7 separate regions of the Homo sapiens genome follow, and all the other regions are linked to region 1. Evidence: promoter capture Hi-C in 16 types of primary human blood cells and fetal thymus (Javierre and others, 2016). All regions are on one chromosome and are shown on one strand. Each heading gives the region's core, a stretch centred on a gene start or on the middle of the fragment in contact. The rest is flanking DNA. Distances are from core to core; before and after follow the strand shown. Region 1 holds the start of GTF2A2 (general transcription factor IIA subunit 2). Region 2 overlaps ANXA2 (annexin A2). Region 3 overlaps RNF111 (ring finger protein 111). Region 4 overlaps RNF111 (ring finger protein 111). Region 5 overlaps RNF111 (ring finger protein 111). Region 6 overlaps RNF111 (ring finger protein 111). Region 7 holds the start of CCNB2 (cyclin B2).

What was found. Contacts are between HindIII fragments. The CHiCAGO score rates a contact against its expected background, and 5 or more counts as called.
Region 2: a fragment that was not itself captured here is called in contact with the fragment with the promoter of GTF2A2 in region 1 in 1 of 17 cell types (M2 macrophages); the score reaches 5.1 in M2 macrophages.
Region 3: a fragment that was not itself captured here is called in contact with the fragment with the promoter of GTF2A2 in region 1 in 1 of 17 cell types (neutrophils); the score reaches 5.1 in neutrophils.
Region 4: a contact is called between a fragment that was not itself captured here and the fragment with the promoter of GTF2A2 in region 1, in 1 of 17 cell types (monocytes). The highest score is 6.5, in monocytes.
Region 5: a fragment that was not itself captured here is called in contact with the fragment with the promoter of GTF2A2 in region 1 in 4 of 17 cell types (monocytes, erythroblasts, total B cells and 1 more); the score reaches 6.8 in monocytes.
Region 6: a contact is called between a fragment that was not itself captured here and the fragment with the promoter of GTF2A2 in region 1, in 1 of 17 cell types (monocytes). The highest score is 5.4, in monocytes.
Region 7: the fragment with the promoter of CCNB2 here is called in contact with the fragment with the promoter of GTF2A2 in region 1 in 1 of 17 cell types (monocytes); the score reaches 5.4 in monocytes.

Annotation. Positions count from the first base shown.
Region 1 is chr15:59,655,562-59,659,713 of GRCh38, reverse strand. GTF2A2 (general transcription factor IIA subunit 2) reads left to right here and starts at 2,199. Exons shown (of 5, transcript NM_004492.3): 1 at 2,199-2,308. It overlaps BNIP2 (BCL2 interacting protein 2), which reads left to right. Exons shown (of 10, transcript NM_004330.4): 10 at 1-568. RefSeq lists an enhancer at 2,163-2,392. The HindIII fragment of the contact is 4,994 bases long and covers 1-3,194 here.
Region 2 is chr15:60,358,127-60,362,278 of GRCh38, reverse strand. ANXA2 (annexin A2) reads left to right here. Exons shown (of 13, transcript NM_004039.3): 5 at 1,225-1,338. Among named protein-coding and RNA genes, the nearest start is that of ANXA2, 38 kb to the left of the region's middle. The HindIII fragment of the contact is 1,397 bases long and covers 1,701-3,097 here.
Region 3 is chr15:58,998,024-59,002,175 of GRCh38, reverse strand. All of the region lies in intron 1 of RNF111 (ring finger protein 111), which reads right to left. Among named protein-coding and RNA genes, the nearest start is that of RNF111, 12 kb to the right of the region's middle. The HindIII fragment of the contact is 747 bases long and covers 1,302-2,048 here.
Region 4 is chr15:59,015,097-59,019,248 of GRCh38, reverse strand. All of the region lies in intron 1 of RNF111 (ring finger protein 111), which reads right to left. Among named protein-coding and RNA genes, the nearest start is that of RNF111, 30 kb to the right of the region's middle. RefSeq lists a silencer at 121-170. The HindIII fragment of the contact is 854 bases long and covers 1,591-2,444 here.
Region 5 is chr15:59,051,490-59,055,641 of GRCh38, reverse strand. RNF111 (ring finger protein 111) reads right to left here. Exons shown (of 14, transcript NM_017610.8): 3 at 3,211-3,337. Among named protein-coding and RNA genes, the nearest start is that of CCNB2, 52 kb to the left of the region's middle. The HindIII fragment of the contact is 2,904 bases long and covers 403-3,306 here.
Region 6 is chr15:59,085,107-59,089,258 of GRCh38, reverse strand. It overlaps RNF111 (ring finger protein 111), which reads right to left. Exons shown (of 14, transcript NM_017610.8): 10 at 3,474-3,600. Among named protein-coding and RNA genes, the nearest start is that of CCNB2, 18 kb to the left of the region's middle. The HindIII fragment of the contact is 1,390 bases long and covers 1,245-2,634 here.
Region 7 is chr15:59,103,138-59,107,289 of GRCh38, reverse strand. CCNB2 (cyclin B2) reads right to left here and starts at 2,144. Exons shown (of 9, transcript NM_004701.4): 1 at 1,998-2,144. The coding sequence starts at 2,021. RefSeq lists an enhancer at 2,332-2,621. The HindIII fragment of the contact is 2,621 bases long and covers 256-2,876 here.

The sequences.
Region 1 (4,152 bases), core at 950-3,449:
GTTAAAATATTTGCATTTTGAAATTTTTATGCAGTTTGGCTAAGGAGGAACTTGGAAAATAACATTCATCAGCTTCTACACTGCACTTTTTGTATGTGGACTTTGTAAAGTTTAATGTCCGTTTAACAGTTGCTTGTTTATTTGTGTAAACCTAGCTAGTAAATATTGATGATGTTCAGGGCCACTGACTTGCACAGCCCTTGGAGCACTATTCACACAGAACACAATTCAGAGTTTGTTAAGACATTAACACACTTTGATATCTATTCCAAAAATACTTTTGTTACCACAGGTTCATTGCTGTCATTTAGACAAAATTAATGTACTGTGATATTTTCCTACTCTTAAGATGATGTTGCCCAGCCGAGTACTGTCAGAAATTCAGTTCTGATGTCTGTGTGTGCAAGATATTAATGTGGTCCCTGTAAGAAATACCAGAGTTGGTCATGATTTACTAAGGAGATGTAATATTTTCTTTGACCTGTTAGGAATATAACTTGTGTCTTGATTTGTTGCACATCATATTTTTTGCAACATTAATGAATTTAAATAAATTAATTGGAACGTTCGTCTTTGTCTTTTTATCACATTTTTCTTTCATTATGCTACTAAATTTTTGCTTTGAATTATCCTATAAACCTCTTAAATAATTTCAGACCTTTACACTTGTTTCCCTTTCTATAGTCTAAGTGCTTCTATTCTTTGGGGATTAGAGAGTTCAGCCTGCTTTATTTTAACATCAAAACAATAATGAAACTTTGTGTTTCATAGTTGAGATTTTTTTTTAATTAATGGGGAATCCAAGGATGAAACCATGAGTGGCTTAAAATGAAAACATGGCTTTTTTTTTTTTTTTTTTTTTTTGAGACAGTTTCGCTCTTGTTGCCCAGGCTGGAGTGCAATGGCGCCATCTTGGCTCACCGCAACCTCCGCCTCCCAGGTTCAAGCAATTCTCCTGCCTCCGCCTCCCGAGTAGCTGGGATTACAGGCATGCACCAACACGCCCAGCGAAATTTTTTTTGTATTTTAGTAGAGACGGGGTTTCTCCACGTTGAGGCTGGTCTCGAATTCCTGACCTCAGGTGATTCGCTCACCTCGGCCTCCCAAAGTGCTGGGATTACAGGCATGAGCCACCGCCCCTGGCCGAAAACATGGCTTAAATAAGAAGAACTTGTTTAGTTCATAGACCTGCTCAGAGGTTCCAGCTGATACCACTTGGTGTTTTTTGTGGTTTTGTTGTTGTTGTTTTGCACATACTCTTTAATCACTATTCAGCTATTTTGTAGGATAAACTGCTCTACACATGACTGCTGGGTTTAAGCCAGTTAGTGTACCATGCACCCTGACACCTAAAACAATTTGTGATTTTGCAAACTTGAAATTTATAGTGAAGTATTTATCTTGCATATTAGATGCAAATTTTAAATATAACTTCTCCCAAATTAAAGTTCTTCATGAACTGGTCACAAACTAAAAACTTTGCCTGCAGCCCTGTTTCGAGGGGTAAAGAAGATACCCTGCTTACCCTGCTATAATTTTTTTTTTTTTTTTTTTTTTTGAGACGGAGTTTCGCTCTTGTTTCCCAGGCTGGAGTGCAATGGCGCGATCTCAGCTGACTGCAACCTCCGCCTCCCAGGTACAAGCCATTCTCCTGTCTCAGCCTCCCAAGTAGCTCGAATTACAGGCATGCGCCACCACGCCTGCCTAATTTTTTGTATTTAGTAGAGACAGGATTTCACCATATTATGCTGGTCGCGAACTCCTGACCTCCGGTGATCGACCCGCCTCAGCCTCCCAAAGTGCTGGGATTAAGGCGTGCGCCACCGCGCCCGGCCCCTGCTATAATCTTTTCAGAATTCGTCTGCAAGGTCTTCAACACTGTTACCCTGAACACACTTCCGGCATGAAATATGAATGCCCTACATTTCTTAAATTGTGCATCTAACAATGGAGAAGATTAGTCTCTAAAAATTATAATTCCCTTAGGAACGATTTAGTAAACCTGGTGAATTACTCGAGCAGAGCGCCTGTCCACCACTTTAAGGCTTCAAGCTCCAGCCCGACGCCCCTCCTTCCCTCTCCACGCCCTTCCCTGACAAGGCTTGAGTGGCGGGCGAGAGCAGGGCTGGGCGGGGCCTCCCGTCCCTCGGGCGGGGTGTCACTTCCAGGTTCCGCGAGCACTTCCGGGTCGTCAGCTCAGTTCTGCGGTTTCTGCGGCGGCTGGAGAGGTGGTCGGAGAAGTAGGAACCTCCTGCCGGGCTCGTGGCGGCTTCTGTCCGCTCCGCGGAGGGAAGCGCCTTCCCCACAGGTAGTGGGTTAGGGAGGGCAGGGTTAGGGAGGGAAGCAGGGCCGCGCTCCCTGCCGCCCCCCCGGAGTCGGAGTGCGTTGGTGGGGTAGTCTCTGAGGGCCCTTCGCTCCTGGGATCTGCCCGTTACCGACCGTTGCCGGCAAGGCCCCGCGGCCGGCACCGGAGAAGGGCGGCGAGGCGGCGGTGATGGTCGCGTCCCGTGGCGGGAGGCTCGTCGTTCACGGGGCGCCCACAGAACCCACCTAGGGGAGGTCTTCAGCCCACCACCGTATTTTCAGCCAGGTGAATGTCTTAAAGCATCCACTAGCGCCCTGTGAGTTTTGCCGAATTTCGGAGAGCATTTTTTAAATGTCTCATTCCTGTGCTTTGTAGCTTGTTGTTTGAAGTCTGCCTTCCAACTTTCTTCGTGCGAACTCCGACAAAAGGAACGAATTTTAAACTTGGTGGTTTAATCAAAAAATGCTAGGACGAGTTACTTCCGAATTTGACTTCTAATTTTCTGAACTGCAAAACAAGAAGGGAACAATAAATTTCTGTGGCTGATACCACATCTAAAAGATTAGAACACTTAACAAGGAATTTTTAAAGAATGTAAGAACATTGAAATCAGCACTTTTAACAAACGTTTAACGCAGGGCTATTTTCTAGATAAACTCAAAAATTTGTCAAATGGGACACGATGCACGATTCTGTATTCCTACTCTGTGGAGTTTTTATCTACCTATTGGGACTTCTTGCCCTTTTTAACCCCCTCTCCCCTCCCACACGCATATTATACTTACTGATATTTGCCTTCGTTTACTGAACAGATTTTTTTTTGGCTCCTATTGTGTGCCAGGTACTGTTCTAGACGCCTATTTTACTTAAGTGAACAAAATAAAAAGCTTTGCCCTCATGGAGCTTACATTCTATTAGAGGATGCAGAAAATAAAATATATAATGGTGTTAGAAAGTGATGGTGCCATCAAAAAAAAAAAGAGAAATATAAAGGAGTACGGGAAAGTTCCAGAGTGGAGGTGGGAACTGGTATTTTAAAGATGACGGTGGTCAGTTTGAGCCTCATTTAGTAGGTGTTATTTGAGCAAAGACTTGAAGGAATTAAGAAAATTTGCTAAGTAAATATCAGGAAGAGCATTCAGGCAGATAGGAAAGCCAATACAAATGCTTTTAGGCCTGTCATGTTTGAGGAATAGCAAGGAAGCCAGTGTATCTGGAGAGGGATGAGCAAGAGTTTTGGGGGTGGAGGGACAAGAAGATAAAGTCAAAGAGATCATGGTAGCCGGATCATTGTAAAGGCTGATAGAAGCCATGGGAGATTTTGAATAGAGGAGAGGTATGTTGTAACTGAAGTTTTAGAAGATCACCCTGGCTGTGAGTTGTGATTAGAGTGTAGGGGTGAGTGTAGAAGCAGGGAAATCATTTAGGAGATTTTTGCAGTAATCCAGATGACGAGAGTGGCCCAGGTCAGGGTGATAACCGTAGGGATGGTGAGAAGTGGTTGGATTCTGAATGCATTTTGAAGGTAGGCCTTACAGTATTTGCTAGGAATTGGATATGGAGAGTGAGATAGAGGGAGTGGAGGATGAAATCAAAGGTTTTGCCCAAGCTCGTAGAAGTATGGAGTTCTTTAAGCCACGATGCAAAAGATAACAAATAGAGATGTTGAGTAGGCAGCTAGATTCAGGAGTGAGAAGTTCTATGCTATATGAATTTGGGGATCATCAGCAGTGGTACTTAAACCATGAGAATAAATGTTATCCGTAAGGAATGGGTGTAGACGGAAAGCAGCAGAGGCCTAAGGACTGTGTCCTGTGATATTAAGAGTTTAGCGAAAACGGGATCAA
Region 2 (4,152 bases), core at 1,150-3,649, 700 kb before region 1:
TGAATAGAGAATGGGTAGAGGGGAGTGTCAAGGGTAGGCTAAGTTTGGAGTTACCTAACCTCAAAGTTCCAAACTGGGAGACTGGTGTTATAATTGGGAGCTACTGCTTTTACAGTCCCCTCCTAAGTGCCGTGTGTTCCCGGGACATTGGGAAGCAGGAGAAAATGGGTGGTGAAAGCCAGGTGGCTTCTAAGATCCATGTCAGTTCTAACACTTTTGACATCTACGAATGATTCAGCATGGTTGTCTCTGAAGCATGCTGCAAATCACCTCTCGTAGCCTGCAAGTACCTGTAGGGGCTAAGCTTTGTAGATGCCACAGGTGCTCTTAGAAAGCAAGGAAAGAAAGAAGAGAGAGAAGAAAAAAAAAAAAGCGAAAAGAAGAACATTATTTCAGTAGGAGGCTTCAGTCATCAGCCATGATTTGTAGGAAGTTTAGCTCGAGGAAGCATCGCTAAAAGACACATTGAGTTGGGGTGTCTGTCTACATACATGGGTGCTGACCAGACCTCTGACAAATTTTTGTGTTCATGGTGACAGTGGATCCAACCCTTAAGAAATTACATGCAGCAGGGAATTCAAGGGGGCCAGTTCGGGGGTGTTAGTTTCCTATCACTTCCATTAAACACCGTCCGAGTTTGGTGTGGACAAGGAGATATTTTCTCAGTATTAGATGAAGTGTTTTGCATAGGAAAGTTTCATGACCTCACTTCCAACTGTGTTGCGGCCTCTGGTTCCTTCTGGTGACTTTGAGGAGCTGCCGCTGGAATGGCTGCCCCCACGTCTTTTACAGTATATCGGGAGGCCACAAGATCTGCTTGCCAGGAGGCTGTCTGCTCAAACATCTCCTTCTTAGCAGGGGCCTTGATCTCCGAAAGCGTCCTGCCTTCCACGGAGTGTTACTGCTTTCAAGCATATTGCAAAGTGCCTGCACTCTCACAGCTTTCTTAGGAATCACATACGACTCCAGTTTCCTTTTATTGACCGGGGAAGACGGCAAAATTAACTTGGATTTTAAGGAATTTCGTTGAAGCAAAGCCTGATGTTTATGTTTCTGAGATGTGGGTCTGTTGAAGGGAATGCAGTTGAGGGCGTTTGACCCAAGACTCCGGAGTGGTCAAAGACTCACAACCTGCTTCACAAAAAGATCCCTCTTACTTTTGTTTTACTCACTAGTTTTAAAGTAAAATAAATATTTTCCTTATGATTGCCTGTTATCTTGAAGGAACTTGCATCAGCACTGAAGTCAGCCTTATCTGGCCACCTGGAGACGGTGATTTTGGGCCTATTGAAGACACCTGCTCAGTATGACGCTTCTGAGCTAAAAGCTTCCATGAAGGTAAATGCATGTGAGATGTCATCTCTGTCAAATCTGCTATTAATTTTGTGAATTACAGCTTTCTGAGTGTAATTTGGTGATTTTCAGTTTTGTTGAATTCTCATTTGGAACCATTTTTTAAAAATGAACTGAAGTTATATGTCTCAGGATTTGTACCAAAAATATTTCAATTACTTGTTTTAAGACTGTAAAGAAATTTCATGATGCTGAGAAGTCAGTTACCAGCTGCTACTACTCAGCACCTGGGCAATTGGAATACCATTTGGGAAAACTACTTCCTTGATTACACTTCCTCCTTTAAAAAGATATGTTGTGATATTAAGGCAAGAAAAAAAAACTCATAGCTTTTGTTAAGTGAAGCTTGCAAATTCTGCCCATCCTTTCGTGGGTGTTTCTTCCTCCCATACTCTCTCTGTCAGTACCATTTGTTTCAAATTCAGGCAGAATCAGAACATCATAGTGCATATAAGGGGTAATTCTGGATGAAGAATCGTACCTGAATCGTACCTGTGAGAAAGTAACTGTGAAGTCTCAATGCACGTTATCTTTTATGTTTTTCTTTTGTAAAGTTCTTTTGAACCTGGAATTTTAGGTTAAATTAAGTAAAAACTGTAGATTGGAAACCTCCTGAACTTTGTGCATACTTAAAATATCAAGTTTTTTGTTTTGTTTTGTTTTGTTTTTTGAGATGGATTTCGCTCTTGTTGCCCAGGCTGGAGTGCAATGGCGCGATCTCAGTTCACTGCAACCTCTGCCTCCCGGGTTCAAGAGATTCTCCTGCCTCAGCATCCCGAGTAGCTGGGATTACAGGCATGCGCCACTACGCCCAGCTAATTTTGTATTTTTAGTAGAGACGGGATTTCTCCATGTTGGTCAGGCTGGTCTCAAACTCCCGACCTCAGGTGATCTGCCCACCTTGGCCTCCCAAAGTGCTAGGATTACAGGCGTGAGCCACCGCGCCTGGCCAACATCAAGTTTTATATAAATGCAATAGATGCACACACATTAATGTATGTTGTACTGCAACACATTTGGACCCTTTTCTTAGTGTGGGTCTGCAGCATTTGAACAGTCCGACACTGCCCTCTGCTGATATACATGGGTAAAGTCTGCGCTGTAGATGAGGGAAACCATTGGTCTTGATTTTTTATTCCGAGTCTGTTTTCTCTGATGCCACTGTTCCTGAATTATGAACAGTCTGAGCTGTAAGCCTGTCACCAGAGCTAATGTCACAGTTCAGTTGTCATCCTTTTCCCAGAGAACACAAGAGTGAGGGTGCTTCGGACACTGGGCATCTCCAAAGCCTGGAATTTGATAGCTCAGGGCTGCTGTAAGATTTGTTGTTAAGTCTCTTTCTTCCTTTAGTTCTTCAGCTTAGCCCAAGCTGTGCTCAGTTTATTTTAGCGGACTTGTCTGAGTTTCCTAAGTAGACTGTACTGCAGAAAAGACGTCATTAAGAATGATAAAATGTCGACAACATTTCATGATCCTGGTTGATAAAAATAGCGCTCCTGAAAACCGAGTCTGTGGACCTTTGGAGGCAGGGATGAGTCAGCCTCTCCTAGGTTTCTTCTGACCATCAACACTTCAGATCAGTTTGTCTTATTTTCATCAAGAATCTATTTAGTTGTGATTCGAGTGGCTTTACTGGTATCTATTACTAGGTATTAGGGACTTGAAACAGACCTTTTTGAGCTGTCAGTCACTGTTGTAATCTATGTAATTGGGCCCAATGGAAGGTGCTTTAACTGCTGAAGCTTTGACCCTGTGCCAGCTCTTCCATTAGCTATCACAGTTGAATACCCGTCCAAAATCCATAAAGCTTGAAGTGACATTAACTGAACTATGCTTAAAAAAAAATCTGTTTTGACTTCTGGCAGTACCGGTGGCAGTATCTGCCATATGTTACAGTAGAATTTGCCCTTGTGATAGGAATTGTGGACAGTCTGTGGAGAGTTTGGGCCGGGCTTTGGAAATTGCCAAGGTCACCTTTGAATGTAGACATAAAAACACTATTGGAATTCTCAGATATTACCACTGGTATATCAGTGATGGAAGGAAACACATCTTACATTATTCTGCCTGTCTTGCAATTCTACAATGTCAGGATATAACATTTCTCCCACTGTGTGTTATTTTTAGACTATATTTCTATCATCCTTGAGATTGAACAACTGCCTCTCAAAATATTCAAAGATACTCGGTAGTCATTTAATAACATTTGTGTAGAATGCTGTATGGACCTTTTGCTAACAAGGGGAGAATTTTTGGCTTTGCTGGAACCTCTACAAATCATGATTAAAAACTCAGAAAGAAGAGCCATTGGCTCAAAGGTTAGATGAAGAATAAAATTCAAAATTAACCATTAACCTGAGGCTTAGCTTATATTATACAAACTACTTTTTCGGGGCATATAAACGCTAATAAGTTTAATTAATAGCTGACACGCTTTTCATGTGGGTAAGTTTCTTATTGTATTAACACCTTATAATTGATTTACATTTTAAACAGTTGTAATTCTACTTAGTTCAAAGTGATAGTTCCATATTCGGAAAGACAAGTATTAAAGAATCCTGATTATTAAATCTTGACTTTGATCATGAAGCCAGCTTTGAAATACATGTTTCATTGAGTCCTTTCAAGCTATCTGACATGCTCAAAAGTGTATATATTAAATTTGAATACATCACCCATCAAATTCTTATTCCTTAATAAAGTGTTGGTGTCTAGGTTTATTTGGCACTTCATTATTTCTTTTTGCTTCCCTAAAGTGCCTGAAGAGTGCATAATTATCAAGCAAAAATGGAAGGACAA
Region 3 (4,152 bases), core at 426-2,925, 660 kb after region 1:
ACCACAATTTACTGTCTACGGTTTCAGTTACCTATGGTCAACCATGGTCCAAAAATATTAAAGAAAAAACTCTAGAAATAAACAGCTCACAAGCTTTAACCGCTTATGAATGCCTACACAGTGCCCATGTCATTAACCTCATTTCGCCATTTTATCATCATTTTCCGTCATCACAAGAAAGGTGAGTACAATATTTTGAGAGATGACATTCACACAATTTTTATTAAATATAGTTATAAATTTTTTTATTAGTTATTGCTATTAATGTCTTACTCTGCCCAATGTATAAATTAAACTTTATAATAGGTATGCATGTTGTGGCTGTTAAGCATCTACTGGGGGTCTTGGACTGTATCCCTCATGGATAAGGGAGGACTACTGTACTTAGTTCTTTAAACATGATTTCATAAAAAATAAAATAAAATCCCATGATAATGTATGTTTTGTAGGTGTTCTGTAACAAATCTTATATCACATGATTTTCTTCACTTAATAAAAGTATTAAGTATTTTCTATTAAAGAACCTAGCTGTCAAAATAGACTTAGTCTTCCTAAAGTGAACCTATTCGCCAAATGTGGAGAGCCCATTTCCATGTCACTAATATAACTTTTTCCTGGTAAAACTGTCATGATTATCAAAAGCAAAAGTTCACATTTTTTAAAAACATGGTAAGTTATACAAGACCTTTATTTCAAATCTCCCTCCAATCCCCACTAAACTGATAGTAAAAAGAATTTTTTTTTAATCAACAACAAAAATAGGAACTAATAGCAGGCAAAGTAGAGATGGCAATAGAATCCTGTTACCTGATTGACAGGAAATCCAGAAAAGAGAAGAGAGGTAAAAAATGGCTAAGAAGTTATCAAAGGCAATGTAAATATTTCATATAACTGAAGAACATGAACCCTTCATACCTCTGTTCTCAGAGACCACCATTCTCCTCCTCACCTACTCCACTAAAGCCCCAGTAGTTTCTAGGCTATTTCTCAAGCAGGTCAACCATGCTATGGCTAGTCACGCTGCCTTGAATGCTCTTCCCCCAGATAACCACGAGGCTCACTCATTCACTTCCTTTACATCTGTGTTCAAATGTTTCCTTATCCATGATACCTTCCCTGACCACCTCACATTAGTAGTTAATACCAACATTAAAATTTTTGTGGAAAGGCAAAAAAATAAAAAGTTAACCCCACCCTCTATCTTCCTTTTCCAGCTCACTTATTTCCACAATGACCATCTACAACTTTGTTTCCCCACCAGAGCAGATTTCGTTTTGATCACTACTATGTGCCCAAAAGCTTAGAACACATATTTGGCATTCAATAGGCATTTGCTGAATTGTTCTTTAAAATAATCAAAAATTCTGACATAACTGAAAGATGGGATGAAAGGAGAATAGTGGGCTCATCTACCATCAAAAATTGGTTAATTCTCTGCAGCAGCAGTTATCTTTTTTTTTTTTTTTTGAGACGGAGTTCAGCTCTGTCACCCAGGATGGAGCGGAGTGGTGCCATCTTGGCTCACTGAAACATCTGCCTCCCAGTTCAAGCAATTCTCGTGCCTCAGCCTCCCGAATAGCTAGGATTATAGGCGCCCGCCACCATACCTGGCTGTTTTGTATTTTTCGTAGAGACAGGGTTTCCCCAAGTTGGCCAGGCTGGTCTCAAATTCCTGACCTCAGGTGATCCGCCTGCCTCGGCCTCCCAAAGTGCTGCAATTACAGATGTGAGCCACCAGGCCCGGTCCTGAGGTCCTTCATAATCTTAAAAATGGGCCGGGTGCCTAGCAGTTTGAGATCAGCCTGGACAACATGGTGAAACCCGTCTCTACTAAAAATAGAAAAATGAGCCAAGTGTGGTGGTACATGCCTGTAGTCCCAGCTACTTGGGAGGCTGAAGTGGGAGGACTGCCTGAGCCCAGGAGGCAGAGAATGTAGTGAACTAAGATCTCACCACTGCACTCTAGCCTGGGTAACAGAGAGAGACCCTGTCTCAAAAAAAAAAAAAAAAAAGGGAAAAAAAAAATCACTGGAAGATCTGAAAAAGCTTTTATTATATGGGTTATATCTACTGATACTTATTGATATGGTCTGGATCTGTGTCCTCAACCAAATCTCAGGTCAAAGTGTAATTCCCATTGTTGGAGGTGGGGCCTGCCTGGAGGTGACTGGATTATCTGGGCAATTTCTAATGGTTCAGCACCATCCCTTTGGTGCTGTTCTCATTATGGAGTTCTCATGAGATGTGGTTTTTTAAAATTGTGTGGCACTTCCCCCTTCTCTCCTGCTCCTGCCATGTAAGACACCTACTCTTGCTTTGCCCTCTACCATGAGTAAAAGCTCAGAGGCCTCCCCAGAAGCAGATGCTGCCACGCTTCCTATAAAACCTATGGAACCTTGAGCCAATTAAACCCCTTTTCTTTATAAATTACCCAGTCTCAGTTATTTATAGCAGTGTGAGAACGAACTAATACCCTTACCCTATTAGAAAGTAAAACTCATAAATGCTTTAAAATGTATTATTTTAAAACTGCAGTAATAGGCCGGGCACAGTGGCTGACACCTGTAATCCCAGCACTTGAGGAGGCTGAGGTGGGCGGATCACCTGAGGTCAGGAGTTCGAGACCAGCCTGGGAAACATAGTGAAACCCTGTCTCTACTAAAAATACAAAAATTAGCCGGGTGTGATGGTGCATGCCTGTAATCCCAGCTACTCGGGAGGCTGAGGCAGCAGAATTGCTTGAACCTGGGGGGCGGAGATTGCAGTGAACTGAGATTGCACCACTGCACTCCAGCCTGGGTGACAGTGTGACTCCGTCTCAAAAACAAACAAACCCCACTGCAAACCCATTATATCTAATATAAGTAACTTTTATTAAAATATTTTCAAAACTTTAATAAGAGCGGTAATGCTATACATTTTTTGCAAATCTCTCTAATGACTAGCTTAACAGAAGAAAACTGGATTGTCACATCTGCATCTGTATTCCATTTATCATGATATGCTGTTCTGGTTAAATTATAAGAAAATCCAGTTTCACACAAATATGTAGTTGAAAAAGGGAGTAGTATATTTAATAACCTTTTCAGGTAAGTGTGGGTGTTATTCCTCTTTGATACTACCCCAAAACTTTACAAAGGCAGTTTGAACTTAATTGCAATGTGGAATTTGAAACCATATCAATGAAACCTCATACTATCAGTGAAAAAACAACTGCTCGATACTGCACTTTACATAGATCTTTCACCCAGACATGACTTTGTAACATCATGGTCATCTGAAAAATATTGTTTCACCAAGTTACGCACCTCTTTCAAACATGACACATTTCATTATGTAACAGTAAAAAAATAAATTTTGTTAATAACACAACCAATCTCATTGCAAAGTCCTGAGAAACTGCCAAAATTACAGTGACTGATAGGCGTTTTCCACAATTCTAATTTTTGCTTGAAAGTTTGAATTTTATTTTGGCAATAAATTCTGTCATTTGTTTTTCTTGAAGTGAACGGCTCACTTCATTTATTTTTGAGAAAATATGTACAAATATCCAAGTTCACACAACTACAGTTTGCTTCTTTCAAGTAAAAATGTGTTCCATGAAAGAAGTGACTAGTTTGCTAATCCATTTTATAACTAAATCAAACAAGTTCTTTTCTCAAAATAAGCATCATACTTTGGTATGCAATGGAAGACCCTGTAACAACCTTCCCAAGAACATACGGACACAATGAGGGGAAGAACACTCACTGTAATCTTTCAGAGTGTGGAGGGTGGGAGGAGGGAGAGGATAAGGAAAAATAACTAACAGGTACTAGGCTTAATACCTGGGTGGTGAAATAATCTGTACAACAAACTCTATGACACAAGTTTACCTATGTAACAAACCTGCATTTATACCCCTGAACTTAAACTTAAAAAAAAAAAAAAACTTCCCATTTTGTCACATGGAATATTAAAAACACATGTGCTTGGCCAGACACGGTGGCTCATGCCTGTAATCCCAGCACTTTGGGAGGCCGAGGCTGGCGGATCACGAGGTCAGGAGATCGAGACCAGCCTCACCAACATAGTGAAACCACGTCTCTACTAAAAATACAAAAATTAGCCGGGTGTGGTGGCACGGGCCTGTAATCCCAGCTACTAGGGAGC
Region 4 (4,152 bases), core at 768-3,267, 640 kb after region 1:
TTAATTTAATAAAATAAATAAATGGATCACACCTGTAATCCCAGCACTTTGTGAGGCCAAGGCAGGTGGATCACTTGAGCCCAGGGGTTCAAAACCACCCTGGGCAACATGAAACCTCACCTCTACAAAAAAAAAAAAAAAAATACAAAAATACAAAAATTAGCCAGGGTGGTGGCACGTGCCTGAAGTCTCACCTACACGGGTGGCTGAGGTGGGAGGATCACTCAAGCCCGGAAGGCAGAGGCTGCAGTGAGCTGAGGTCTTACCACTGCACTCCAACCTGGGCGACAGAGCATGGCGCTGTCTCAAAAAAAAGAAAAAAGAAAAGAAACAAATATACAGTTATATGCACAAATAAGAGGGCAGAAACAAAAGGGAAAAGCTGAACTCAAACTTTTTTTCATCCTTTTCTTATTTAAAAAAAAGTATTACATAAAATTAACTGCTAAGCAGCCTTTTAAAATCAGGCAGGATTTGTACAAACTGTTATGGAAAGTATGGATCATTTTCTTTAAACGGACTACAAGTAAGTCTGCTATTATAGGATTCTTCTTCGTAAAACAACTTATATTAATATATGCATTTGTAAAATACACACTTAACAGTTTGGGAGTGAAACAATAGGGTAGAAATTTATAGCACTGGGTGGGGGTCTTTTACCCTTTATAAGTTTCTGTATATATAGTTTGTTTTTTTTCTAAAAAGTAACCATTTACCAATTTTGAAATTAAAGATTTTTTAAGGAAATAAATTATGAGAACATAATATATTTAAATTTTTCACTATATTAGAACACAACTTTGTTGACAACAGATTTCTACACAAACAAATCAAATATATGCAAGCACAATTTTTACAGGAATCTTGGCTAGGCATAAAATTTCTTAAGTGACCAGAAATGACCACCAATCCTGGACACCTTAATGACAGAATAGGGCAGAAACTCAGAAATGGCAGTGACCGTTAGCAGATTTGAATGGAATTGTCAAATGTGAGAAATGATTTTTAGTTACTGATGTTAGTCTACAAATCTAGGCATGTTGTTTTTGAACCCATCTTTACAAATAAATTTTAATGCTCGAAAATGATAATAATTTATCAAACCATTTCACAAAATCTTTCTTCATTAAAAGTGTAATAATTATGATTGCTGCATTAATGGAAAGTAGTCTATAAGAGCTCAACAAATAGGCCGGGCGTGGTGCCTCATACCTATAATCCCAGCGCTTTGGGAGGCTGAGGCAGGTGGGTCACCTGAGGTCAGGAGTTCGAGACCAGCCTGGCCAACATGATGAAACCCCGTCTCTACCAAAAATACAAAAAATTAGCTGGGCATGATGGCAGGCGCCTGTAATCCCAGCTACTCGGGAGGCTGAAGCAGGAGAATCGTTTGAACCCAGGAAGTGGAGGTTGCAGAGAGCCGAGATTGTGCCATTGCACTCTAGCCTGGACAACAAGAGCGAAACTCCATCTCAAAAAAAAAAAAAAAAAAAAAGAGTTCAACAAATAATGTAACAAACCTGGAAGACAAACCTCCAGGACCTTTTGTTCTTGATAATTCAAGTAATAAATCTGTCAACTTTCAAAGCTTCAAACTTACAAACTACTCTTAGAGATTTCTGTTATTTTAACTTCCTGTTTCCAAAACTGAACTTTAAGTGGCTTCCAGATTTCCTTGGAGATTGGAACTGAAGAGTTCTCTCTTTTAAAGTGATAGAAGCCAAACCTAAAGACAATTGATGTTTTTATAAATATACAGAAAAGATGGCTGCTTCAACATGTCTTCAAAATTTAACAATCTGTAACAGGTAAATGTAAAATTAAACCATATTTCGAAATAAGCTCTTAAATCTTTACAGCAGCACATTTTACATACTGAACTATTAATTTTTTTGTCAATGCTATTAAATGGCTTGGTGTTTCTCTTATGAATAAGCATTGTCACATATGCTGAATGACGCATTTACGATCTCTGGAAAATCAAACTTAAAAATACAAAAATAAAAATTATCGTGGCCTACACAGCAGCGGTTTCCAACCTTTTTGGCACCAGGGAACGGATTCGTAGAAGACAATTTTTCCACAGACCCAGGGTGGGGGTGGGTGGGTGTGGTTTGAGATGATCCGAGTACATTTATTGTGCACTTTGTTTCTATTATCATTGCATTGCAATATATAATATTATACAATTCACCGTAATATAGAATCAGTGGGAGCCCTGAGCTTGCTCTCCTGCAACTAGATGGTCCCAACTGGGGGTGATGGGAGACAGTGACAGATCATCAGGCATTAGATTCTCGTAAGGAGCAAGCAACCTAGATCCCTCACATGCAGTTCACAATAGGGTTCATGCTCCTACAAGAATGCCGCTGCTGATCTGACAGGAAGCAGAACTCAAGCAGTAATGTAAGTGACAGGGACTGGCTGTAAATATAGATGAAGCTTCACTACTCATCCACCACTCACCTACTGGTACATGGCCTAGTTCCTAATAGGCCACAGATGGGTACCAGTCCGTGGCCCAGGGGTTGGGGAACCCTGCTATACAGAACTCTTTGGAGAAAACAATGTCACTGAAGCAGTGAGCACATCCTTGTGAGAGGCAGGAAATACTGTTTGAAATAGGTAGGGTAGAACAAAATTATGGTGGGCCGAGCAAGATGAAAAATGTTGACTAATATGGTATATGCTCAATTATTCAAATAATTACAGAATAACTACTTTATATGCTGGATCTGTGGGCAGAGAGAGAAAATACAGGTTCCCATCCTTCAAGAAGCTCACAATTTAGGATGATGGAAAGAATTACAGAATATAAATAATTAGGCCAAAGTGGGCAGATCACGAAGTCAAGAGATCAAGACCATCCTGGCCAACATGGTGAAACCCCATCTCTACTAAAAATACAGAAATCAGCTGGGCGTGGTGGTGCGTGCCTGTAGTCCCAGCTACTCGAGTGGCTGAGGCAGGAGAATCGCTTGAATCCAGGAGGTGGAGGTTGCAGTGAGCCAAAATCATGCCACTGCACTCCAGCCTGGCAACAGAGCAAGACTCTATCTCTAAAAAAAAAAAACTATATATATATACATATATATATTTTTTAACCAAAATTGGCCAGGAGCAGTGACTCATGCCTGTAATCCTAGCACTCTTGGAGGCCAAGGTGGGCAGACTGCTTGAGCTAGGAGGTCAAAACATGGCAAAACCCTGTCTCTACTAAAAATACAAAAGTTATCTAGGTGTGGTGGGGTGCACCTGGAGTCCCAGCTACTCAGGAGGCTGAGGTGGGAGGATCACTTGAGCCCAGGGGCAGAGGTTGCAGTGGGCCAAGATCACGCCACTGCACTCCAACCTGGGCGTGAGAACCTGTCTCGAATAAATAAATAAATAACCAGAATACGTTATAAACATGCTATAAATAAAAGCACTCTGTAGGAACAAAACGAGGCAATTAAGGACTCTGATAATGGCTTCATAAAGAAAGTCACATCCAAGTCAAACCATGAAGGATGCACAGGGTGACGGTGGGCGAAGAATATTCACTTCAAACAATGCTAAGAAATGGCAACATCTAAATACTCTAATGCTTGGGGCTGTAGGTTCTTTTGTTCTTTTTTTTTTTTTAGTAGGGGAGAATAAGCTAGGGTCAAATTATCAGAGTGAGGGATTATAGGTTTCTGTTTAACCTAGTTTTAGGAAGACTTTACCTGAGGAGCTGAAGGGAACAGGCTAGAGGGAAAGTCAGAAAGACTACGGAGGAAGCTCTTACAGTGATGGGGGCAAAGAGTAGTTTTAGCAGTTTCACCACATTAACATGCCAATTGTGACTAACAATATTATCTCCATTTTTATTAAAATGCATAAAATATTTCAATACTATTGTAAAACTATATGTGAATTCATAAGAATGATAAAATAAAAATTTAGAAACATACAAAACACAAAACATGACAATATCTCTAACATGCTAGTATGCAAAGAAAGCCTTCAAAATGATAAGGAAAACATAAGTGACTTCTATCTTATCCATCATATTTTATTTTTATTCTTTATTTCCCTTTTATTTTGAGAAAATTATGAAGAAAAATATCAGAATTTAAAAAATTCGACTTTGGTCCTAGTAAGTACTGATCTAAAACTAAGGCTAAATAG
Region 5 (4,152 bases), core at 605-3,104, 600 kb after region 1:
GAATTTTTAGTCACCACAAAAACCCATAAGCCTTTCTTACTAAATGTTAAGTTTTTCATACAAGATTTCTCCAAAGAAATAATCGTAATTAAAAATCATGACTGGCACTCGGTAAACTAATTGACCTAAGAATATAAGAAATACTATGTTGTACCAATCATTAGTGTAAAATACAGGATTCTGTTTCAAGAATGCTACTCTCTCTTCCATGGTTACTTTTGAGAATTTACCCAGGTTATAATAAACTATTTACATTTTCTGTTAATAGCTAAAATTACTCACCATAGGTAAAGGAATAAAAATAACACCCTACACATTTAATAATATCCACAAGGTCTTGTATGTTTAGCTCAGGATAGATTTGCAAAACATTCCTTTGGGAGTCCTAAACCAAGCTAAGCTTCTAGTATTGCCATAAAAGAAAACAAAACAAAAAAAATAAACAGGCACCAGGGAGATTTCCTGATGTGTAGAGGTAAGGACATTGTGGCTAGTTTACTAGTTTGGTAGCCCTAAGAAATATTACTTGCGTGAGCTAGTTTATGCTTCTAAAACACGTGACTGTGAACCCTAAACATCTAACTTCATTTAAGTATGTGTGTGGCATTACACTGTTCTAAATTTACTTACAGGTGTATATACTTTGAAGGACTCACTATAATGATTTGGACTAAGGACATACAGGGATAATATGTAGAATATGCAGTCCTAAGGCTCCAGGATAAAAAAATAAATCTTTTAGAAAGGTGAGGCCAATAAAACACAAGGGCTTTCTCCTGTTCAAACTAAATATAAAACTGCTTATAACCTTATTGTCAGCATTTACAGAAAATATCTGTAATATAAAAGGTCATTGGGGGTGGGTGCTTAACCACTAAGAAGAGAACTCCAAAGGTCAAAGTGGGCTGAAAATGGCCTCAACATTTTCAGCCCAACTTGAACTTCAACGATTATAGAACCCAGAGTTTAAAAAGTTCAAATTCTAAAATAAAATTCTTAAGAAGGAGTATAAAGTTAATTACCGAGCCACTGTCAACATAGGATAGTACATATCAGAAACAGTTGTGGTATAGCTTGAGCCAAGATAGCCATGTCTTGGGATAAAATGGTTTTGTATGAGGAAAGATACCACCATTTAAAATTCTTGAAAAATCAAGAGTCTATGATGAGACTGAGTAGTCTATTATCTCTGGGAAGCTGTTAATAGCTGAAGGAAGTTATAGGTCCACTTTGCAGTACTTTTGTGAAAGCATCATATTGTACTAGATGGAGCAACTGCAAAAAAACATGAATGTATGAGGAAGTCTCAAGGAGGTATTAGTGGCCACTATGATTAGTAGCAACTGTCAAATCCTGACACAAAAGACTCTAAAACAAAGAAATACTCTCTTAAATGAAAGGGCCAGGCCAGGCGTGGTGGCTCACGCCTGTAATCCTAGCACTTTGGGAGGCCGAGGCGGGTGGATCACAAGGTCAGGAGTTCGAGACCAGCCTGGCTAATATGCTGAAACCCCGTCTCTACTAAAAATACAAAAAAAATTAGCCAGGTGTGGTGGCTCATGCCTGTAATCCCAGCTACTCACAAGGCTGAGGGAGGAGGATTGCTTGAACCCAGGAGATGGAGGCTGCGGTGAGCCAAGATGGCGCCACTGCCCTCCAGCCTGGGTGACAGAGGGAGACTCTGTCTCAAAAAATAAATAATTAAGTAAAATAAACTAAAGGGCAAAAAGCCAGCTAAACAGTAACAAAATTAATATCTCTTAATAACAATAAGAGATATAACAATGGGTCATGTACACTGTGGGTCTTTTTCAAGATCACTGCCTATTAACTCAGGTAAATGCATCTGCTTGACATCAACCATGTCCAAAACAAGATCTCTAGTCCTACAAGGAAAAATAGGTCTGTAATTTCAGTAGTCCTTACAGCTCATAAAAATTGAGTCAATGTTGTACCAAGCACTATGCACGGTCAGAGGATAGGTGTGGTACATAACACTGGTTTTCAGTTTTACTCAGAGTTGGGGAAAATAATATAAAATTAAAACAAACAAGTATATGTTATAGAATGCTCACTTCCATGCCTTTAGAAGTAGCACTTCGATGCTAAAATGGCAAGTGGAAAAGCATGTTCTAAGTGTTTGTAACAGATGTCAGAAATATGAATATATACTTTTAAAATCAGTAACATATTAACATGCAATAAGCAAATGCACTTCTAAATTCGTTCCAACACAAAAATTAAGATTCATCCGTTAGATTATTAGTTGGGTGTATCAAATGTAACAAAGCAACTCTTTATTGCTATTATTACCAATACTTATAATCATCTAAAGTATAAGATGAATGCAATGTTAGGAGTTGATATTTTGGAGGGAGAGTCAAAGTGATTCCGCAATAGGGCAATGTCTTTTCCAGTTATTTATAAAAACAGATAAGGATGTTTCATTAATGTGTTAGTTCAGAGCACCGATAAAATTACTGAGTGAAGGAAAAAGAATCAAAACATATGTTTTGAATTAGGGTGCCCTAACACAGTAACAGCACAAGTTTCACTGGTATCAATGAGTAACATATTGAAACAAGTAGATTCTAACAGAAAGGGCTATTTCAACATCAATACCCCTTAATATTTTTTCATTTTTAATTTGGTACCATCCCCAATATTTATGTATTATTCACATCTAAATTTCAAAGCAGATCAATTCTCCATATCATTAAAAAACACAATTTTATAAAACACTAAGTAAAATTATTGTTTATTCAGAGCATTAACTCTTAACTCTCATTGTATACTTGGGGTGCTTTTAAAAAGACTAACCTCTAAAATTCTAGTTCAAGTATGGGAAAGAGTCTGGGCAACAATATAGCTTTATTTTATTATCTCTCCAGGTGAGTTTAATGCAGCCTGCTTTGAAAAGGACAAATCTAGACAGGCTTAGTGACATGTGCCTACAGTCCTAGCTACTATGGAGAATGAGACAGGAGAATCACTTGAGCCAAGGGGTAGAAGTCCAGCCTGGGTAACATAGCAATATTCTATCTCTTACCAAAAAAAAAAAAAAAAAAAAAATCCACTAATCTGATATATGCATACTCAAACTGGGTCTCAAAAATAAATAAATAAAAAGAATGCAAATATCTGCAGCACAAATATGTTTAATATTTATATTTAATATTTCAAACATTTAACTAAGAATTAAAATCTCACCGATAGCTTTCTCCAACTGTTACAATCTCCACTTCACTGTCAGTTGAGGTAACATTAATTTCTTCATTGGCAGTAACCTGGGGAGTGGAGGAAGCTTCTATCACCACAACATCTTCATCAATACTTCCTGGAAACAAAAAGAAAAAACATTTAAAGGCATCTTCCTGTCAGCTAATCGTTAGGCAGAAATTTTTATTTTGACTTTGAAGACCATGAAATTCATTGCAAAAATAAAAATCTTATCTGTCAAAAAGGTTTTTTAAAAAAATACACAAGGAACAAAAAACACACACAGTAAAAATGGTAATCACTGTTTTAATCTACACTTCTTTGCATGTTTACTTCCTCTTCTATGGATTTGTTGTATTCATTACAGATGTTCAGTGGTTTCTACATGATTTGTAAGATCTTATATAGATATTTATCCTGTAATATCTGTAGTATATTATAGATCTTGTATAAGATATTCTACTATATAAGATATTAACCCTTTAATAGCTCAAAGTAATTACAATAGCTTTATGTTTTTTCCAAGGTTGTTTTCATTTAGGTGATATATTCTTTTAAAAAAACACTGTAGCTTTTTAGTTTTATGTTATGAAATTTGTCATTTGTTTATTTATTCATTTATTTATTTATTTATTTATTTATTTATTTATTGAGACAGTTTCTCACTCTGTTGCCCAGGCTGGAGTGCAGTGGGATGATCTCGGCTTACTGCAACCTCCTCTGCCTCCTGGGTTCAAGTGATTCTCATGCCTCAGCCTCTCAAGTAGCTGGGACTACAGGCATGCACCACCACACCAGGCTAATTTTTTAGTAGAGATGGGGTTTCACCATGTTGCCCAGGCTTGTCTTGAAATTCTAACCTTAAGTGATCTGGCTCCCTCAGCCTCCCAAAGTGCTGGGATTATAGGCGTGAGCCACTGCACCCAGCCAAAA
Region 6 (4,152 bases), core at 690-3,189, 570 kb after region 1:
TTCTATTAGGGAAACTTTTAACACTGTTTTCTAATTTTTTGTTAGTTACAGTCAATCTTCATTATTTATGGATTACATATGTGTGAACTGACCCACAGGCTAAAATTTACTTGTAACCCCATAATCAACACTTGTGCTTTCAGAGTCATTCGTGGATATGACCGGTGGCAAAAAATTGCAGTTGCCCAACATGCAACTCTGTTCCCAGCTGAGGTAGAACAGGGCTCTGCCGTATTTGAGCTCCTACTATAAACCAGTGTCTTGTTTGCAGACTGTTTAGTGCCACGTTTTTCACAGTTTTGTGCTTTTTGTTGGTGATTGTGTTGTTTAAAATGGCACCCAAGCATAGAGCTGAAGTGCTGTCTAGTGTTCCTAAGCAAAGAAGGCTGTCATACACCTTATGGAGAGAATAAGTTTCATTCACGCATGAGTTACAGTGTTGTTGGCTATGAGTTCAATGTTAATGATTCTACAATATTTTTTAAAGTTGTCTTTAAGCAGAAACACACATAAAAAAGGTTATACACTGATTAGTTGTGAACAGAGGTTTGCAAGGGTCCCATATTTGCTAATTCAGTGTTTGCAGCAACTGTATAGATCATAACTGCCATGCATAGTGAGAGTATTAGGAAAGGGCATTTCTGAGATACAGCACCATTCTTCCATCTTTATAAATAAATCTCTGACATTACTTTTTAATTAGCCTACACTGAATCACAACATACTTTAAGCAGAATTTATAGCTTTAACGGACACTTCATATGTGGAAAAGAATTTAAATAAGCAATAACTTTTAACCTTCAATAGCCTATTACTTAAATTGTTTACAACTTTTCTTATAACCAAGATCATTACTACTCAGCAGATAACCCAACCTCCTAAACATCTTCAAAGAAATCGGAAAGGAACTCCTGCATCCCAAATTATCTAAATCTTCACTTACCCTGAAAAGCCTCTCCTCCCTAGTCTCTTTCCTCCAGCCTTTATGGATGAGCTTTTCTCCTATTCGAACTCAATCCTTATCACCCACTCCTCCCTTCACCTGTTCACCCTGGGTCATGCTTACTTCACTACTTCCCACCAAGCCTCTCTCTCTTCAATATCTTCAAACAATTCCTCTCTAATGGTTTTCTGTCTTAAACCTGAAAATACCTTAAGTTTTTCCAAACCTAAATTCTCTACTAATCCTGGAATTACTGCCAACCAAATAGGGGTTTCCTTCACTTTCCCTTCACAGCCAAGCTTATAAAGCAAGAAGGCTATATTCACTGTCTCCATGTTTTCACTTCCTTACCGTACGTAATCTAAGAGGTGCCCCATCTACATCACTCACCATTACTGAACCATTCTGACACAAAAGACCAATAACCACTCTACTGCCAAATGCTTTCAATACTTTTCAAACTTTATTTTTTTGTGATGACACCATACTGACCATATTACAGTTCACCCTTGAACAACATAAAATGGGTTTGAACTGCATGGGTCTGCTTACATGTAGATTTTCTGCCACCTCTGCCACCCCAGAGACAGCAAGATGAATCCCTCCTTTTCCTACTCTTCAGCTTACTCAATGTGAAGACAATAAGGAAAGAGACCTTTATAATGATACACTTTCACTTAACGAATAGTAAATGTATTTTCCCTTCCTTATAATTTTCTTAACATTTTTTTCTACTTTATTGTAAACTATCATTATCTATTGTAGACTATCATTATCACGTACTTATAACATACAGAATATGTGTTGATCAACTGTTTATTTTAGCAGTAAGGCTTCCGATCAACAATAGACTATTAGTAGTTAAGATTTTAGGAACTCAAAAGTTATACTCTGATTTTCGACTGTGAGGAGGGTCAACACCCCTAACCTCTGCATTGTTCAAGTGGTAACTGTATTTTCTGATATTATTTTAACTGTGTTTCTCAACTTTTCAAGCCAGTTCTCAGAATCCTTTGTTCAAAGCATAGTATTATCATTTAAATACAGTATTGTCATTCTCTAAGGTTTTTTCACCCTCTTGTCACTCTGCACATTTTTCCTGAAAACCTAATCCTCTTCCATGGATTCATTACCTCCATATACTGACAGATCAAAACATATCTTTAACCCAAATATCTTTGGAAATCCAGACCACAGGCTTAACTTCCTATTGGACATTCAACTTTCATAGAGATTCAGTACATCCAAGACCTAACTCACCTAACCCCTTCACCCAAACCCTAAATATCTCTCAAATGTGTATCATCATTTTTATGCCAACTACAATTGCCTTCATTCAGGCATTCATCAATATTTACCTCTTCTACTATAATGTCCTAACTGGTTTCCCACATTTACATCTATTTTTCCACATAACTGAGGAGGTGATCTAACTATAATCTGATTAAATAACTCTAAAATCATAAATTTGATCAGGACATTTCCCCTTCAATGGTTCCTGAGTTCCAGTTTCTTGGTAGAACAGTTTTATTTCTCACTGCTGCCTGACCCTCACTCCTAAAATTAGAAACACCAGCTTACTTGGAGTTCCCAGTGCTTGTGCTATTTGCTACATCTTTACATGCTGTAACCTCTGCAAGAGCACCATTCCATAATCCAGTCTGCTTAGAAGTCACATGTACCAGAAAGCTTCTCTGAAAGCTTTCCTGCAGTGCCTCTACCCACAACAACACAAAACTATTCCCTTTTCTGTACCATTTATATAACAAGTATGTAATACAAACAGCAAACGCAATGTATGTTTTGCTGAACTTGTCCTTTAGCACTTTACAAAATCTGAACCTGCTTAAATCAGATGTAGAGAATTAGTATAATCTTTCTGCAGATTAGAAAATCAGGCTGGGTGCCCTGGCTCAAGCCTGTAATCCCAGCACTTTGGGAGGCCAAGGTGGGCAGATCACTTGAGGCCAGGAGTTTGAGACCAGCCTGGCCAAATGGTGAAACCCCATCTCTATTAAAAATACAAAAATTAGCCAGGCATGGTGGCACGTGCCTGTAATCCCAGCTACTTGGGAGGCTGAGGCAGGAGAATCACTTGAACCCAGGAGGTGGAGGTTGCAGTGAGCTGAGATCATACTACTGCACTCCAGCCTGGGTGACAGAGTGAGACTCTGTCGAAAAAAAAAGAAAAAAGAAAATCAAGTATGACTGCATCAGAACGGATCTATTACCACTTACGGCAAAATAACTGAAGCACAGTATACTCCTGACAGTGGATTAAGAGTATCTTGGTATACAAAAAACCCCACACTTTTTTGTCATGTCGTACATTAAGAGTACATGTTATGATGCAAATTATACGTGCAGATTTTAATACATCTAATACCTTTTTATAGCACAATTTTAGCTAACAAGATTACTCTCAAATTCTATTAAAACATCTATATTAATATAGTGAAGTATTTCCAATAAAATACTTAGAAAAGGAACTTTTAGAACATGTCAAAATTTTGAAAATTTTCCATTTTACCATTAAAGGAAGAGCTCCTAATTGTAAGTGATGAAGTCGAGGAGGTGCGTGATAATGGGCCAAGTGAGGATGCAATGCACCAGGTGTATAAGTAGCTGCAGTCACTCCAGCTTCAATTCCCAGTTCCCTAACGAAAGGATGAGAACAGTTTAATCCTCCTTAGGGTCTCTTTTTTATCAACAGACATGGGGAGTTATGTTTACACTTAAAAAAGTAATCTAAGGTTTCTTAACTTACAAAGCTGAGGAAAGATAATTTAGCCCAAAATATTTAACTAATAATTTCAAATTTATTTTAGAACTGAAAGCTCTAAAAACTTAAATTTTGTGACAATGAGGAGCAAAGCATTTCTACTTGGTTTCACATCTTACAAAGGAAGGAAATATATGGCTACGAAGTTCCCTTCCAAGATAAAAGTCTGATTCTACTTGAGGAGCATACAACATAGAATTTACTTTTTTGGTGTATCTGAATGTTACAGATGCTCTCTGGGTTTTTGTTTGCTAGATATCATCTCTTGGTTGTTGACATTAAGGACGATTAGAATAGCAAACTCTTCTACACCTTATAAAAGAAGGGCAAACAAAATTTTAGAAGGGGTAAAACTGTTATATGCTAAGTCTTCATTTACTTATTCTCATTTTATGTTCTGCCTCAAAAGTCATTGTGGTTCAAGATC
Region 7 (4,152 bases), core at 895-3,394, 550 kb after region 1:
GAAAGAATTTGAAATACTTTGCTAATGTTAGATACTCAAATTTAGAATTGCTTTGGGAAAGGACAATACGTCAAGATCTATTTGCAAGATGGAAAAGGTACATTTCAGGAAGTCTAAAAATGCTATTTGTGATTAATAACATCACTCTAAATTAGGCAAATCACCCATCTACTTTATCCGTAATAAAGATCCTCCCACTAACCTTGCAAAGCTATTCTGAGTATTCAAGTGGGCCTGTAAGAGAACTTCAAAGCTTATTAGTATTTAATGATTATTTCTCATATAGTACCCATATCACTTGTTAGAGATCCCTGCAAGTTAAAGGCATATATTTAAAAACCTTCCTTTACAGAGCTTGGTAAAAAGTAAATTAAGATGAAAAATAATAAAGCTATAATATTAATAGTTAATAATAGGTCTGGTTGTTTAAAAACCAGATGTTTAAAACCTAAACTAGCTTTGATTCTTATGCCATTTCACAAATAAGAAATGCTCCTGTATGCATGATCTTTTAGAACTACAGCTTTTTAAAATGAGGTTGCCATAGAATGGATTTTCTCTTATATTAAGGACATTTAGAATGGAAGTAGTTTTCTTGAGTAATATAGTTTTAGCTCCCAAACTCAGGGAAGGTTGGAATTGTATGAAATAAAAATTGTCAGTTGACCTTAACCTGCTTTAGACATAATGTGCTTGGAAATAAAACTTGCTAGGAAAAGCAACTCATACCAAAAAAAGTTTATTATAGAAGTGATAAACATTTCATTAAAAAAGAAAAAAGCAAAAAACCAGCATGTCCTATCCCTGAGAGTTCAGGGTCCCGACTCTAATAAAACTCCCAACAAGGGGTTTGAGTGGATCTACCAGGCAGAGAGAGGGGCCAGGGAAACTCAAGCCTTCCCTGAACAGAAAGGTTTTGACTATTAAATAACGTTATAGAATACATTATTATAAAAAATTACTTGTCAGTTGGACTTAGATCCACAAAAGGATATTAATTAAATGCTAAATGTATTCAATCTATTAGGATTCTCAAAAGTCACACTTCAATTTCTTCCAGCAGCAACTGCCAATCTGAAAAAGTGTTTGAAAATGTAATGCTTATGGGTAGAAGCCTGGTAATGTGACTCAATTTAAATTCATCTGGATAGGAAAATTGGCAGCTTTTATCTAACCTTATAGCCAAGATGATGGAACTCAGGTGTGTCAGGGCCCTCTAGCTTTCGGCAAAGGAAAAAAGTAGGTCCCGGTACAATTCAAGCCCACAGGAAAAATACCCAAAACACCATAACACTTTGATCTCTGCAAGGATGAAATAAATGAATTTGGACCCTTTTCTCTCAGTCTGCCACATTGGTCCAAATTATATTCAAAAACCTCTGTTACATTTGAGTAAAGAAATTAATTTTTTAAGGGGACAAACCCATTTATTAGTGAACGTAGCATGGAAGACTTAGCGTGCCGAAATAAATGGGAAACTCATACAAAAAGAAATGTGAACAATCTGAAAAACAGCCTGGCAGTTGCCTGATGAAACACGCCGTACACTTTACTGCCTACAGAACCCTTCCAGTCCTCCTCCCAGCCGCCATCACAGGTCCCTTAGTTGGCAAGGAGTTGTAAGAAAGGGGGAGGGAAATCCCAGGAACGTGGAAGTAGATAACTCTCTAGCAATGAAGAGCACTCGGGGATCGCTCGCTGAGTACTAGGCCTAGTGCTCTGGGGGCTCACTTGACAGGCGCCATCTCGGAAGCGCTTTCCTACACTTCTCCCACCCCGGGGCAGGGAGGGGTTAGGGGAGGGCGGAATCCAGACGGGGAAAGGCGGGCCGGAGAGGACCGGCCGCAGGGCCAGGGACGCGGGCGAAGCAGTGAGCTCCGGAGAAGAGAAAAGCAGCCCCGGTTGGGACGGAGAAGCTCGGAGCAGATGAGAGAAGCGACAGGGGAGCTGTGGGGCCGACGGACTCGCCTCTGAGAGCGGTCCCCGGGCACACTCACCGTCGGGCGTCGGAGCAGCGCCATGAGGGACGGGGAAGGCAAGAGTGCCAGCCCGGCCCAGGGAGGGACGCGGACTGAAAAGGGAGGACACTAGCGTACGAGGCGCCGTTAGGACTGCTCTCCGAGCCCGCAGCGCTGGGGATCTTCGACGCTGTAGCCTTGTTCCAGGATTCAAATACCGCGTCGCTTGCGCCCCATTGGGCGGCCCTGCGCACGGGTCGCTGTTCTCATTGGCCAACACAAGATGCACTCTCGCACTCTCATTGGCTGAATTTTCTTAGACACGTTTGATTGTCACAACAGCCGGTTGGGGTGTTTTTTCTGCCTACAGTCTTTTAAAAAAAAAAAAACCCCAGTCTCTGAGACAAACAAAAAGGAACTGTCTCATTGGGAAAGCAGACGTAGGACGCCTCTGAATTTTGACAAGGCCTCATCTACGAATTTCTCTCGACGTTTGTAGTGGGTGGGCGGAAGTTGGTTGGCCTTTATTCCTCTTCTGGTGTGTTGGGGTTTAAGTTGTGTTGGCCTGGGTGCAGGAACCGGCCCCTCCGGGTTGCTCAGGGATGCAGTGTGTTAGGTGGTTGAGATGCAAAAGTGTGCTTAAAAAAAGAGAGAATAATGGCGTTTACTCAAAAACCCAAATTCTCAAGTAAGGCAAAAAAAAAAAAAAAAAGATAAAAGAGATTTGTGTGACTGGTGATTCATGTAAGTTCTCCATTGTATTCCCAACACCTAGTACATCGTTTGTCGTATATGGTTGGTGCTCAATAAATGTTCGTCTAATAATCAGCCCAAGCAAAGAATTCATGTCTAAGACCCCAAAAGCAAATGCAACAAAAACAAAAATACATAAATGGGACCTAATTAAACTAAAAAGCTTCTGCACATCAAAAGAAATAATAGACAACCACAGATTAAGAGAAAATATTTGCAAACTATGCATCGGAAAAAGGCCTAGTGTCCAGAATCTAGAAGGAACTCAAATCAGCAAGAAAGAAAATAATGCCATCAAAAAATGGGCAAAGGACATGAATAGATATTTCTCAAAAGATATTCAAATGGCCAACAAATACATGAAAAAATGCTCAACATCACTGATCATCGAAGAAATGCAAGTTAATACCACAAGGAGATACCACCTTACTCCTGCAAGAATGGCCATCATTAAAAAGTCAGAAAAAAAGGCCGGGCGCAGTGGCTCACACCTGTAATCCCAGCACTTTGGGAGGCCTGTTGGGCAGATCATTTGAGCCCAGGTGTTCAAGACCAGCCTGGGCAACATGGCAAAACCCCGTCTCTACAAAAATACAAATATTAGCCGGGTGTAGTGGTGAGCACCTGTAGTCCCAGGTACTGGGAGGGGGGCGGGGGGCGGGGGGCGGGGGGCCGTGTGTTGGGGCAGGAGGATCCCTTGATCCCATGAGTCTGAGGCTGCAGTGAGCCATGATTGTGCCACAGTACTCCAGCCTGGGCAACACATTGAAACCCTGTCTAAAAAAGAAAAAAAACCTCAAAAAACAATAGTCAAAAAACAGTGTAGGCGTGGATGTGGGGAAAAGGGAATGCTTAAACACTGCTGGTAGGAATGTACAACTTCTATGGAAAAAAGTATGGTGATTCCTTAAAGAACAAAAAGTAGTTCTACCATTTGGTCCAGCAATTCCACTACTGGGTATCTACCCAAAGGAAAAGAAGTCATTATATGAAGAAGACACTTGCACATGTATGTTTACAGCAGCACAATTCACAATTGCCAACCTAAGTGCCCATCGACCGAGTGGGTACAGAAAATGTGGTATATATACACCATGGAATACTACTCAGCAATAAAAAGGAACAAAATAATGTCTTTTGCAGCAACCTGGATGGAGCTAGAGGCCATTATTCTAAGTGAAGTAACTCAGGAGTGGAAAACCAAAAACCGTATGTTTTCACTTGTAAGTGGGAGCTAAGCTGTGAATATACAAAGGCAAACACAGTGATATAATGGAATTTAGAGACTCAGAAGAGGGAGGGTGGAAGGGGAGACAGGGATAGAAACCTACATATTAGATAAAATATACACTACCTAGGTGATGGGCACACTAAAATCTCAGAATTCACCACTATATAATTCACCCACATCACAGAAAGCCACTTATATCCCAAAAGCTAC